Regions from separate parts of the Homo sapiens genome. Here region 2 is linked to region 1. Evidence: promoter capture Hi-C in human tissues and cell types (Jung and others, 2019). All regions are on one chromosome and are shown on one strand. Each heading gives the region's core, a stretch centred on a gene start or on the middle of the fragment in contact. The rest is flanking DNA. Distances are from core to core; before and after follow the strand shown.

The links. The method cuts DNA at HindIII sites, captures the fragments that hold promoters and counts their contacts. A contact is called where the count stands out against the background at its distance.
Region 2: a fragment that was not itself captured here is called in contact with the fragment with the promoter of VPS26A in region 1 in 1 of the 25 tissues and cell types used here (heart right ventricle).

Annotation. Positions count from the first base shown.
Region 1 is chr10:69,121,117-69,128,726 of GRCh38, forward strand. It overlaps VPS26A (VPS26 retromer complex component A), which reads left to right and starts at 3,062. Exons shown (of 9, transcript NM_004896.5): 1 at 3,062-3,164. The coding sequence starts at 3,162. RefSeq lists enhancers at 2,296-2,655, 3,520-4,026 and a silencer at 2,916-3,315. The HindIII fragment of the contact is 17,457 bases long and covers 1-7,610 here.
Region 2 is chr10:70,089,421-70,096,402 of GRCh38, forward strand. It overlaps MACROH2A2 (macroH2A.2 histone), which reads left to right. Exons shown (of 9, transcript NM_018649.3): 3 at 640-746; 4 at 2,337-2,534; 5 at 4,315-4,425; 6 at 6,234-6,333. Among named protein-coding and RNA genes, the nearest start is that of AIFM2, 40 kb to the right of the region's middle. RefSeq lists an enhancer at 1,618-1,762 and a cis regulatory region at 1,683-1,696. The HindIII fragment of the contact is 5,418 bases long and covers 1-4,362 here.

The DNA.
Region 1 (7,610 bases), core at 1,812-4,311:
ATTTTAAAAAGAAAAGAGGAATAGTGAGATAAAACATTAAGTATTGGTACATTTAAGAAAAAACTGTATATTGTGAAAAAATGTTTGGCTTTTATAATTGTAATTTTTTAAAAAAAGAATATTTACCATGATTACAGCTGCACTCGCTAAAGTTTTTAAGCAAAATCTATTCTATGTGCTCTGGGAGGTTAAAAGAAAAAAGTGTTTCTATACTTCACTGGCATGCTTTAAATTGTATTTTATTTTTAAATTAAATTAATTTATTATTTATTTTTTGAGACAGGGTCTCGCTCTGTTGCTCAGGCTGGAGTGCAGTGGTGCAATCTCTGCTCACTGCAAACTCTGCCTCCCTGGCTCAAGCTATCCTCCCACCTCAGCCTCCTGAGCAGCTGGTCCAATAGGCACATGCCACCACTCCCAGCTAATTTTTGTTCTTTTGCAAGAGACAAGGTCTCACCATGTTGCTCAGGCTGGTCTCAAACTCCTGGGCTGAAGTGATCCACCTACCTCAGCCTCCCAAAGTGTTGGGATTACAGGTGTGAGCCATTGCGCCCGGCCTAAATTGTATTTTCTTTCTTTATCCTTTTTGTGTATTTGTATTTTATTCTCTTCCCTTAACTTTGCCAGTGAACTCTGCAAACAGCTGCTCCCTGACACTCTCACAGTTATTAATGTGAATTTTTAGTCTTTGTGAATTTGAACAAATGACTATTTTTCTCTTAACTGGTTTCTGATTGATAAAAGCTCAGATTATCTTATCATCTAATACTTTCTGACCTAAACTCGGTACTTTTGTTGATGAAAGTCAATCCCTGTAAGTTAGTCACATTTTCCTCACACACCCCACCTTTTTTTTTTTTTTTTTTTTGGCAGAGGGCAAATATAGAGATGCCACAGTTCTCAGCTGGTGAAACACTGTACTGCTCACAATCTAGCTCTAACATTCTGGCTTGCTGAATAGATTGATAGGTAGGCAGACAGACAAATAACTAGCTCAACAATTCTGTTGCTTCTTGTATTTATTATGATAGCACAATTATTGATTGGGTTTTGATCAGTAGAATAAATAATTAGTACAAATTGGTTTCTAGTGTGACTTTCTTTGCCACCTCTTATTTATACCTGGCTTCGCTAGTATTTCTTTGCCTGTGTGGCATTTTCATCTATTCTCTTTGTTATGTTGATATTTAAGTCCCAGAAAAGAGTGGGTAGGAACCAGAGTAGCTCTCAAGGTGACAGGCAAATCTTCTAAGTGAAAAAAACCATTTTTCACTTTTATTAATTAAAGATTTGCATTGTTTTTGCTGCTTTCTTTTCACAGTTCAAACAGACAACAATATCAGTGTTACTATAGTTATTTATTTTTTTTGAGATGGAGTCTCGCTCTGTCACCAGGCTGGAGTGCAGTGGCGCAATCTTGGCTCACTGCAATCTCTGCCTCCTAGGTTTAAGTGATCCTCCTGCCTCAGCCTACCGAGTAGCTAGGATTACAGACGTGCACCACCATGCCCCGCTGATTTTTGTATTTTTAGTAGAGACGGGGTTTCGCCATGTTGGCCAGGCTGGTCTCAAACTTCTGACCTCAAGTGATCCGTCCGCCTCGGCCTCTCAAAGTGCTGGAATTATAGACTGTGAGCCACCATGCCTGGCCCAAATATGTGCATTTAAAGCTACAAATTTTCCTTTTACACAGTGTCACTGCATTCCACAAATTTGATATGTTGTATTATTATCTTTTATTTCAAATTATTTTATTTTTATTATTTTTTATTTTTGAGACAGAGTCTTGCTCTGTCGCCCAGGCTGGAGTGCAGTGGCTCCATCTCGGGCACTGCAACCTCCGCTTCCCGGATTCAAGAGATACTCGTGTCTGACCTCAGGTGATCCACCTGCCTTGGCCTCCCAAAGTGTTGGGATTACAAGTGTGAGCCTCCGTGCCCGGCCTCAACTTATTTTTAAATTTCCATTGATCTCTTCTTTGACCTAGAGATTTGGAATTATGTTGCTTAATTTCCAATATTTCCGGAATTTTCTGGCTTGTTTGGGTTGATTTCTAATTTTAATTCTATTGCGGTTAGAGATGATACTCTGATTTCAATCCTCTTAAATTTGAGGCTCACACTGAGGATTAAGTATAAAAAAATTTTTTTTGATACCTGTTTCATGGACTCGCCTCACAAACTTCTGTTTTAAGGTGGGGTAATTATAGTGCGTTCAGGGATGGATTTTTCTTCTGCTTTGGTTATGCATAGAGTGCACTGTGGCCCTTCAACACTATACTCTGAAATCCCACACAGTATTTTCCTCATCTGGAGGTCCTATAGGCTTACACTAGGGAGGAGGATCCAGTTCAGGCCAGCGTAGTCTTCAGCTGCGCCGTGGGACTTTCGGGGGAGCGCCTTTGCCCTCTCAGAACGGCTGGGCGGAACGGTGGGTTTGTGAGCCCTCCAGGCTCAGGGTGGGTCGCTCAGGGGCCATCTGGGGACTTTGGGAAGCAATGAAAGTTGTACCCTAGGATTTTTTTCTACTGGTCTTCTCTTCAGAGGCGAGAAAGCCAAGTTAAGAAAACCCAGACTCAGAAGGAGGTGGAGCGGGACTGCGTTCAGGCAAGGTGGCAGAACGCCTCGCCGTGGACGAAGAGAGCACATCTCTTCTTGCGAGGCCTAAGGAAGTAGGGCTCCCACTCGCCTCGGCAACCCAAGGACCCAGCCAAGGAGAGAGCCTCCAGATGAATCCTTCCTCTCCTCCTTCCTTCCCAGCCGCTCAAACTTTCACAAAGAGGAACTGGGTGCGGTAAAGAGGCCGGACACGGAACCGCTCGTCCGGTGACCGAAGAGACGGCGAGGAGGAGCCCGCGAACCCGCCTCTGTTCAGGCCCCGCCCACTCGACGTAATTTGCCCGCCCCTCTCCACCCTCCGAAGGGTGGAGCCTGAGGCCCCGCCTCCAAGCGGCCTCTCCCCGGAGTGCCTGGCGGCCAGCAGGGCGGGGCAGGAGGCTGGGAGAGGGACGGGTGCGGGGGTGGGGGAGAGGAAGGGAGCGGTCACGTGTGAGGGGCGGCCCGAGGTCACGTGACGGAGCGCCGGAGCGGAGGGAGCCGGGGCTGGGAGTTCTCCTGAGGGAAGAGGAGTGGAGTAGGGGGGACGCGGCGGCGGCGTTGACAATGGTGAGTGCGCGGCGGCCAGCGCGCTCGCCTCCCGCCCTCGTCCCGGAGCGCGCGGCGGGCCGGCCAACCGCGGGCCGGGCGTCGCCGGAGGAGGGGACGGGGGAGCAGGGCGGGGAGCGGGGTTAGGCCTGTCGGGCCACCCCTGGGTCTGGGAAAAGCTGGCGGCGCCACCTCTTCCCGGTCTCGGCGAGGCCCGAGCACCTACGGGCGGCGGCGTGCTCTCCTGGCCATGTCGGAGCCTCTGCCCGCGTTCTTCGACTGCTTGTTGGGGCTCTGGCTGGGGACTCGGACCCCGCCTCTGCGGGGGCTGGTCGCCGCCTCCCCTTCCTAGGTAGCCAGTCCCTGTTCTCCTCCCGGGCAGCCTCTCTTCCATCCAGGTGGGGCGACCCGGGAGCCCCCCACCTCCGGACTCTTCGGGGGACTTGGGCACTCAGTGTGTCACGAACTTGATAAACTCTGATATTTTAAAACCTGACTATGGTGACATTCTTTGATTTCATGACCCCAGTTCAGGCTTTCTGTTGACACTTGTAAAATGGGAGAGAAAAATAAAAGGACGTTGGAATGGGGGATATCTTTAACTCCAGAGACACCCGTTTGGTGCCCGCCGTTTTAAGCATTGGCTCTCATTTCCGTCCGCAAGCTATTTCGCTGAACTTAACGCTCTGGGTTGTTGAAACGGCCTATGAGGCAGAGGAGGGAGGGGAATCAGTGCTCTCACCACAGTCCGCGGAAGCACTAGCCTGGGCATTGTGGTATTTAGCTGGGTGTCGGCAGTCTCTAGGTTAGATCTCATTTTACCCATTTTCTGGTAGTAGTCGTCAGTTCTCTTCATTTAGCGCCTACTGTATGCTCTCCTAATACTACCTGCTCTTCCCAAAGCTCACTGATTCAATAGACTGCTTGAGACTTTTGGCTTAAAAGGCCGAGCCAGGTATATTTTTAAAAAGCTACTTTGAATAAATAACTTTTAATTTCAGTAATGATGTTGCTTTCAAAACAAAACAAAACAAAATCCAGACATTCATGTTCATTCTTAGAGCTTTTTTTCTTTCATTCAACAAATAATTGCTCAGGTGTGCCTAGGGGACCCCAGTAAAATGGAAACAGCGCCTACCTGCTCTCGTAGCTTACAATGTAGGGAGAGATAAACATTTATTTGTGTAAATTATTTGTTTAACGTGGAAATTAGAATTGTGACAGATACTAAGAAGGAAGTATTGGGGGACCTTGCCTAGTCAGTGTTAGGGCAGGCTTCTTTAATTGAATATCATTTGAAAAGAAAACTTAAAAGGTCCTCCTATTTTTTGCTTACATTTGTAATTATTACTTTTAATACGCTTTTTTGAATTATGTTCAAGAGCAGTTTATATTTTCAAGTTACCCAAACAGAAACTAAATTGTAAAACTTTAAAACACTGAAATGGTCACAGATGTAATATATGTATGAAAATTTGCTGTTTCATTGCTTGTGTATGGGCTAAGTGAATGAATTTTGAGAGTCAGCCTTCCACCTCAGAAATGCAATGAGTTGCATTTCTTTACATCCACTGGACTTAGTGAAATTCCTTCAGTGGGGACTAAAAAGTTGCCTTTTTATGTATCTACCATGTATTTTTGCTAATTGGTAATGCTCAATATTGGGTTCAGAAATTATATGAAAAATCCTAAATTAACCTAAAGTCAGTGATAGGAGGTTTAGGCCAAGATTAGAAAACTATAAAAACAATTGCTAGCATGTTTTTATAGTCATATATATTGCAGTCCAGTTATTTAAAAGCTCAAGAGTTTTAACTTGCATATTAATAGTTAATCCTGAAAATCGCAATATTCCAAATGCGCCCTTGAAGATATCTTTACCAAAAGAAGTGAGTAGTATTTTTGCACTTAAAAGATCTCACGGGGTGCGGTGGCTCACACCTGTAATCCCAACAATTTGGGAGGCCGAGGTGGGCGGATCACCTTGAAGTCGGGAGTTTGAGACCAGCCTGGCCAACATGGCGAAACCCCGTCTTCACTAAAAATACAAAAACAAAAAAAAATTGGCCAAGTGTGGTGGCGCATTGCTGTAGTCCCACCTACTCGGGAGGCGGAAGTTGCCTGACCAACATGGTGAAACTCCGTCTCAACTAAAAATAAAAAAATTAGGTGTGGCGCACACCTGTAATCCCAGCTACTCAGGAGGCTGAGGCAGGAGAATCAATTGAACCCGGGAGGCAGAGGTTGCAGTGAGCCGAGATCGCGCTGCTGTACTCCAGCCTGGCGACAGAGTGAGACTCCGTCTCAAAAAAAAAAAAAAAAAAAAAAATCTCAAAACTGAATTGCTGTCTGCATCATATCCTAACCCTCAACAAATTTTATTCTCTTTCCTTCTAGTCTTTACCAGCTTGACAGTTGTGTATTTTACTTCCTCTTTAACATATCAGAAGTATTAGAATTTTATTTAGAATAATTAGAAAAAGAATTTAATTTCATTACCCTTTATTTCAAATGACAGAAGTTGCACATCTTAGAAAAAACTTTGAAAGAGAGACTTTGGGTAGAGATCTTTCTCTTTCAGTTCTTTCTAAAAGACAAGCTTTTTTCCTCAGTTATTTTTTTCTTTTTGTTCTCTACCTGTAAAATGTAAGATATCCACAATTTTCTGGAGGTGTTTTTTAGTAAGACTAGTTCTTTTATTATTATTATTATTTTTTGAGACGGAGTCTCGCTCTGTCGCCCAGGCTGGAGTGCAGTGGCGCGATCTTGGCTCACTGCAACTTCCGCCTCCTGAGTAGCTGGGACTACAGGAATGCGCCACCACACCCGGCCAATTTTTTTTTTTTTTTTTTTTTTTTGTATTTTTAGTGGAGACGGGGTTTCGCCATGTTGGCCAGACTGGTCTCAAACTCCTGACCTCAAGTGATCCGCCCGCCTTGTCCTCCCAAAGTGTTGGGATTACAGGTGTGAGCCACTGTGCCTGGCTGACTAGTTCATTTTCGATATGCCCTAATGTAAAAAAACTGAATGTTGGTCGGGCGTGGTGCACTTTGGGAGGCCGAGGCGGGCGGATCACGAGGTCAGGAGATCAAGAGCATCCTGGCTAACACGGTGAAACCCCGTCTCCACTAAAAATACGAAAAATTAGCCAGGCGCGGTGGCGGGCACCTGTAGTCCCAGCTACTCGGGAGGCTGAGGCAGGAGAATGGCATGAACCCGGGAGGCGGAGCTTGCAGTGAGCCGAGCTAGCGCCACTGCACTCCGGCCTGGGCGAAAGAGCGAGACTCCATCTCAAAAAAAAAAAAAACCTGAATGTTAACCCAATGCCATATTGTCATGGAATAACTGGTTAAAGTGCAGTAATTTATTACTCAACCTATTACTTTTTTGCATATGCTATACTAGGCTTTTTAAAAATGCCATTTGATTGCTTCCAATTTTAGTGTTTTGATTGTATTTAAAAATATCTTTTTTTTTTTTTTTTTTTTTTTTGAGACAAGCTCTTGCTCTGCCGCCCAGTCAGTGGCTTACTGCAGCCTCGACCTCCTGGGTTCAGCCTCCCAAGTAGCTGGGACTGCAGGCACACACCACTATGCTGGGCTAATTTTTTAAATTTTTGTAGATATGGGGGTCTAGCTGTATTGACGAAGCTGGTCTTGAACTTCTGGGCTCAAGTGATCCTCCTGCTTCAGCTTCCCAAAGTGCTAGGATTACAGGTGTGAGCCACTGTGTTCTGCTACTTTTTTTAAAATTATGAAATATTTCTTGCATCCAGAAAATAATAGAGGATAGCACGTAGTTTTTCACATATTTTTAATGGTTAGGAATTTAAATATTTAAGGAATGGTGTCAAAACACTGTTTATCATTATGGTGTTAATTGTGAAATTTTATAAAATGAACTTGGTTTATACCATTTTAATTGGTGGCAATTTTAGTTCTATCAAAATTTTATTTAACTTTGGGATTTGATTTTTTTTTTTTTTTTTTTGAGGCAGAATCTCACTCTGTCGCCCAGGCTGGAGTGCAGTGGCAAGATCTCGGCTCACTGCAACTTCTGCCTCCTGGGTTCAAGCGATTCTGCTGCCTCAGCCTCCCGCATAGCTGGGACTACAAGTGCATGCCACCACGTCTGGCAAATTTGTTCTGTTTTTGTAGAGATGGGGTTTCACCGTGTTAGTCAGGATGGTCTCGATCTCCTGACCTTGTGATCCTCCTGCTTCGGCCTCCCAAACTGCTGGGATTACACGCGTGAGCCACCGCGCCTGGCGATTTGATCTTTTAATGTCAGCTTTCAAATCCCAAGTGGAACTCTGTGTGTTTAGGTATATGCATGTGGAAAAAAGTTATAATATTTCCTTTTCTCTGTAAAACAATTTTTATAGTTTTCAAATCTCATTTTTCTTTTAAGTAGCTCTGGGAAGTGTCAGGAGGAATGAGAAAATTAATTTTAAGGCCAAGCAAGGTG
Region 2 (6,982 bases), core at 404-2,903, 970 kb after region 1:
CAGCCATCGTGTCCTCAGCCCACCATTAGAAAGGAAAGAAGGGCACAGCCCCTTCATTGATGGACACTTCCCAGAAGGACCAGAAAACACAATGGCTTGCCTTCTTTGGCCAAATATTGGTCACAGAACCACACTTATCAAGGGAAATATAGTTTTCCTGCAGTTATGGGCTTGGCAAAAAAAATCAGAAGTCCTGTACCAAGGAAGAAGAGGAAGAGGGAGAACTGATGCTGAGGGACAACCAGGAGGCTTTGCCACAGGATCGGATAACATCTTGCTAAAATAGCTTACTTCTCTGTGACCTGACTTATTTTTTCTTTTTTTAAATTTTTTAATTTTTTTAAATTTTTTTTTTAGAGACAGGGTCTCACTCTGTTGCCCAGGCTGGGGTGCAGTGGCACAATCATAGCTCACTGCAGCCTTGAACTCCTGGCTGGGCTCAAGCGATCCTCCTGCCTCGGCCTCCTGAGTAGCTGGGACTAACTTGAGTTCTCTTACGCTTCCTGGATTTCTTTCCAGGCCGAGACATAGAAATCACAAATGAATGAATGTGATCAAACTTGAAGGCCATTTCTAAAGAAAAGCTTTAGCTCAGACCCCATTCTGTGATTGCCTGTTAATGCCTCCTTGTGATTTCAGCGGAAATTCTAGAATTGGCCGGCAATGCCGCGAGGGACAACAAGAAGGCCCGGATAGCCCCGAGACACATCTTGCTGGCAGTTGCCAATGACGAGGAGCTCAACCAGGTATGTCTGAAGCCTTGAGGGAAGCCGTAGAATGGGTTTGCCAAACATGCTAATGTGTGGGCCTGGCTGGCCATGAGTCACTCCTGCTACAGTTCCCAATTACATTTATACAAAAAAAACTCAGGCCATATAAAAGAACAAATTCTGCTAGCTCTTATCATTCAGATTCAAAATAAAATTGCCTCTGGCATAGATCTCATTATATATTCTAGGTCTTATCAGACCTTTCTTTTCTCTTTGAAGACAAGTTCTGTGTGTTGCTGAGGAAGGTGTGGCACAAATGTTATTCTCTTCACTTTCTTCACCCAAACTTAGTTGACAGTTTTTTCTGATGAAGGCAGAAGACTCTTTATATTTTAGAACTGACTGTTTATATTCTGAAACTGACTCCAAAGTCAAGCGAATACCCCCTTTTCACCTACAGTATATGTAAGGTGGTAGGTAAATAGTATAAGAATTTTTATTTCTGTTTCTTTTCATTTATCTTTATTTTCTAATCTCACTCTTCTCAAACTGTAGTGAAGAAGCCATTTTTATGGCCAATCCATCATGGACTGATAATTTCCAGAAATGTAATAAAAATCACTAGAAAAATTAAAAAGCAAACTACAAGCCATAATTTTTTGTTATCAGATTCAACAGATATACAATAACTGTCAGTTTGCTGTGAAAGTTTCTAGATGCTTGCTATACTTCTGTTGTCACTGACGGGTAACTACCAGTTCATGGGTGAGCCATGGTCGCAGACCATGCTTGGGGTAGTGTTGGTTTCGAATCTGCAGAATATATTAGTGGAGTAGTACGTGTCTGTTCTTTGCAGATAAATTAACTTATATTGATTGGGAGGAGCATGGCCAGACATACTTTACTGATGGAATGTATGTGCAAGCTTGTGGAGACCACTGGTTCATCATTAACTGGGTCTAGTCTTTGCAATGACCTTTGAACATCATTTTCTCAAGCTGCGCTCCCCACATGGGAAGCTTTTTATCCTGTGTTGTGTCTGGAATTCCAGAGCCCTGGGCAACATCCCTGGTTTCAACTTCTGTGTCCCTTCTATTTTGCTTTACTTCGTTTTGCTTTCTGTACAACATCACAGGATGCCTTGTTAACCTACGGAGAAATGCTCTACAACTGAAAGTGGGAAAAGCCAATTAAATGGTGTATTACGCAGTTTCTTTAGGAAAGCGGAGGCCACATTTAACAGTTAGAACCGTATTAAGTCCAGGCCAGGCACAGTGGCCCACGCCTGTAATCCCAGCACTTTGGGAGGCCAAGGCAGGTGGATCACCTGAGGTCAGCCGTTCGAGACCAGCCTGGCCAACGTGGTGAAACCCTGTCTCTACTAAAAATACAAAAATTAGCCGGGGTGGTGGCAGGTGCCTGTAATCCCAGCTGCTCAGGAGGCTGAGGTAAGAGAATTGCTTGAACCTGGAGGCGGAGGCTGCAGTGAGCCAAGATCGCGCCACTGCACTCCAGCCTGGGTGACAGAGTAAGATTCTGTATCAAAAAAAAAAAAAAAAAAGAACTGTATGAAATTGGGAACTAGCAGGCTGTTTGCTACATGAGCGCATGCATTTCTCTCTTCAGCTGCTAAAAGGAGTGACCATCGCCAGTGGAGGCGTCCTGCCCAGAATTCACCCCGAACTGCTGGCCAAAAAGCGAGGGACCAAAGGCAAGTCGGAAACGATCCTCTCCCCACCCCCAGAGAAAAGAGGCAGGAAGGCCACGTCAGGCAAGAAGGGGGGGAAGAAATCCAAGGCTGCCAAACCACGGACGTCCAAAAAGGTAGGCCGAGGCTGCGTGTCCTGGGCCAGGCACTCCCACTGCAATGGTCTGAATGTCTGTGTTCCCCCACAATTCATATGTTGAAACCTAACCCCAGAGGCATAGGATTACAAGGTGTGGGCTTTGAGAGATAACTAGATCATGAGGGCGAGTCCTCACGAATGGGAACAGTCCCCTTATAAAAGAGGCCTGAGGGAGGCAGAGGGACCCTTCTGCCATGTGAGGACACAGCTAGAAAGCGTCATCTACCAGGAAGTGAGCCCTTGCCAGACACAGAACCTGCCTGCGCCAAGGACTTCCTGCCTCCGGAACTATGAGAAACAAGTTTCTGGGCCAGGCACAGTGGCTCATGCCTGTAATCCCAACACTTTGGGAGGCCGAGGCAGGAGGATGGCTTGAGCCTAGGAGTTAGAGGCTGCAGTGAGCCATGATGGCACCACTGCACTCGAGCCTCGGTGACAGCGCAAGACCCTGTCTCTTAAACAAACAAAAAAAAAAGAAAGTGGTTTCTGTTGTTTGTGAGCCAGCCAGTCTATAGCATTTTGTTAGAGCAGCCCAGGCAGACACTAAGACGCTCACAGAACAGGAGGGAAGTTTAAAGATGAGACAATGACTTCGTAGCAGACACCTCTGAAGGACCGAGGACTCTTGCAGCTTGGTGCCGGAAGAAAATGACAAGAATGTACAGGTAAAAGAATAAAGGGCCTTTGAGGTTAGAGCTGAAATGGGTCTTCTCTAGGTTTCCAAACCCTAAGCAGGGATGGTTTTCAGATCCCTTTTACTACCCCCAGCAAAATCTGAAGTGAGCGATGATAGCCAGGAACCTGCATTTTATTTCTCTGCAGAGCTCTGTGTTGCCTTCCAAACAGCCTCTAGTCTCCTGCAGGCATTCCCTGAGTTCCGCCAGTGGAATTTCAGGTGTTTGGCATATACTTGATATACTAGGTGTTTGGGTTAGCTTGATATACTAGGTAGCTTAGCTCAGAGATGCCACTGATAGAATAATGTTTTCCTATGTTGCCCAGTACAGTAACCACTGGTCACATGTGGCTTTTTTTTTTTAAGAGACAGGGGTCTCACTCTGTCACCCAGGCTGGAGTACAGTAATGCAGTGGCGAGATCATAGCTCACTGTAGCCTCAAACTCCTGGGCTCAAGCGACCCTCCTGCCTCAGCCTCCCAAAGCATTGGAATTATAAGTGTGAGCTAAGGCACACAAGCCAAGGCTATTTGGATTTGAATTAAAACTAAATCAAATTTAAAATTCAGCTCCTTGATTGTACCAGCCACATTTCAAGCACTCAGCAACATTATTGAGGATCAAGATGAATATTTCCACGATCACAGAAAGTTCTATTGGACAACCCTACTGTAGAAGTTGTGGATGTTTCATTCCACACTGCCTCTGTGCCCCGAGAAATCCTGGGGAGAAAGAAGGCTAAGCAATGGGCTATCAACGGCCCCACCCAGCTCCGATGCTTGTCGTCGTGAGCTGCAGGCATTGAAATGAGCAAGGACAATGTGCTGGTGCACAGGGGTAGGTGAGGACTGCAGGTATGTGTGAGCCCTTTAACACACTTTCTATTTTGCTATTTTGCGGTACCCTTTTCTTTCCTTATATTGCTGACTTTTGCTCCCCTCCTTCAAGAAACAGCAGAACACATCACCTAACCACTTCCTTTCATATTCAACTTGGTGGCAGCCGTGAGAAGAGCTTAATAAAGGCACCTCAGGCTTTTTCTGGATTGGTTCTCATCTTGCCTTTTGATTTTTACCGACAGTCCAAACCAAAGGACAGCGATAAAGAAGGAACTTCAAATTCCACCTCTGAAGATGGGCCAGGGGATGGATTCACCATTCTGTCTTCTAAGAGCCTTGTTCTGGGACAGAAGGTAACAAAGAGAATTGCCTTGTGCTATATTAAAACACCACTGTATTTTTATAACCTACTGTTTACAAGCAATGATGCCTCCTTTCCTCCCCTGATAATGATTTTCACTGCAGTCTTGAATTATTCATTTTTAAACTAAAGAGCTGTGGCAGTGTCAGCATTGTGAGAGTGAGAATTGTTCTTTTTTGCTGAGAATTGTTAACGCTAACATTGGTCAGACAAGGGTGAGCATGGAAGCTCTTTCTGGTCAGTAGATAGGATGGCATTACTGGTTTTGCTGGGAATTCCCCACACCCCAGTTATTTCTACATCTGCCAAAAAAAAAATCCATAGCTAACTTTCTCAGACAGCTTCTGAGAGGCCCATCTTACATGGTTCAATGTAATTTATCAAAGAAAGAAAATAGAAATATATGTTTCCCAAATATCCTTGGTATTAGAAATGAATTATTTGCCAATAATTCAGTCTGCCTGCCTTCCTAGGCTTTAGAAAGTAAACAAACAGGGCTATGCATTTGAACAGTCTTCAGCAACACAACAGCAGCCCAACCAGACATGCAAATAATTCATTCCTACAAGTGTAAAGTTTACTGAGCAGACAATTTATCTACCAAGTCAACTGGGGCTGAAATAAGACACCCAAGGAAAGAGTCAGTTAATCATATCTCTGGTAGCTGAATGTTTCCATCTTGACAACACAGTAAGCCTCCATTCAAAGAATTGGGAAGAGTATGTTCTAAGAAGAGCATCGGTGTGGCTGGTTGCTAATTCGTCACTGATGAAAGCAGGGAAACAAAGAGGTGGAATTTATGTCCCCTCTCTGGCCTGTTCACTGTTACATGACGATTAGCTTTCTCTCACTTAGCTAAGGCAACATAAAGGTCTTGCTCACATGGGCCAACAATAGAGAATGCCCTCCATTCCACTCTACTGTGAACACATAGGATAGCAATTCCCAATGGTAGCCCCAAGACTGTGGTCTCCAAAGGGCAAGGGAGCCAGACACCCCCAGGTCAGAATCCCAGAGCCCATTACTTCTCTCCAGCAAGGTTATTGGCTTCAGAGCCCTGCCCCACAGATTTTGTGTTCTTCTAGGGAGAATGCAGGATGCTGAGGGGAGAAGAGAGAGCAAGCCCTGGGCTTCCTTGCAGGAGCTTCTCAGAAGATGCATCACTGAAAACTAAGGCCACCAGGGTTGGGAACCAAAGGCATGAGCTGTAAGGGAAAGAAAGAAAGGAGAGGGGGCCAGGCGCGGTGGCTCACGCCTGTAATCCCAGCACTTTGGGAGGCAGAGGCGGGTGGATCAAGAGGTCGGGAGATCAAGATCATCCTGGCTAACACGATGAAACTCCGTCTCTACTAAAAATACAAAAAATTAGCTGGGCATGGTGGCGGGCGCCTGTAGTCCCAGCTACTCAGGAGGCTGAGGCAGGAGAATGGCGTGAACCTGGGAGGCAGAGCTTGCAGTGAGCCGAGATCACGCCACTGCACTCCAGCCTGGGAGACAGAGTGAGACTCCGTCTCAAAAAAAAAAAAAAAAAGAGAGGGGAGGCCCTGTTCCTGTTCCAGGGAAGAAGAAATGGATTTGTTGCATGCTGCCAGCCCCAGAGTGGAAAGCAAATCCACTGAGCTCAAAGAGCTTATTGCAAGCCAAACACCTGGGAAACTGGAGGTTGTCACTCTCTATGCAGCCCCTATGTTGACATTGGGTATGAATAATTAAAGAGAATTAATGAATGCAAGTAAAATATGAGATTTTTCAACAGAATTTTATCTTTTCCACATTCACCACCTTTTCTTCCTAATGCAGCTGTCCTTAACCCAGAGTGACATCAGCCATATTGGCTCCATGAGAGTGGAGGGCATTGTCCACCCAACCACAGCCGAAATTGACCTCAAAGAAGATATAGGTAAGGTCCTGAGACTTCAGTAGAAGTGCCATAGAATAGGCCACTGTTCAGGCAAGTTCTTGTGAAGCTGATCATTGTCAACTGGCTGTCCCTCCGCTGGGGTCCCATGTCAAGCTCTGTCTTTATGTGTAGTTGAACAGTTTCACTAGAGAGAAGCTAACTTTGTTTTAATTCTGCATATATTTTTGAAATTTTTATTGGGGTATTGTGTAAAAGCAAATCATTAGCATAGAGCTTGATGAATTTTTCTCAAAGTGAACCCCACTTTGCAACCAGCACCAAGATCCTGAAGCAGACCCTTACCAGCACCCCAGAAGTCTCCCTCAGCCCCACTCCCAGTCAGTATTTCCTCCAAGGGTAACCACTGTCCTTTCTTATCAAAGCAGAGATGGGTTTCATCTGTCTTGAATTTTGTAAAAATGAAATCTTGTCCTCTTCTGGGTCCGACTCCTTTTGCTCAACTTAGTATTGTGAAATCTATCCATGTCGTTGAGTATGCTTGTATTCATTCATTTTCCTTGCTCTGTAGTATTACACTCTATAAATATATGACAGTTTATTGATCTATTCTACCACTGATGACATTTGGGGTAGTTTCCAGTTTGAGCTATAGTGAATAGTGCTACTATAAATATTGTTGTACATGTTT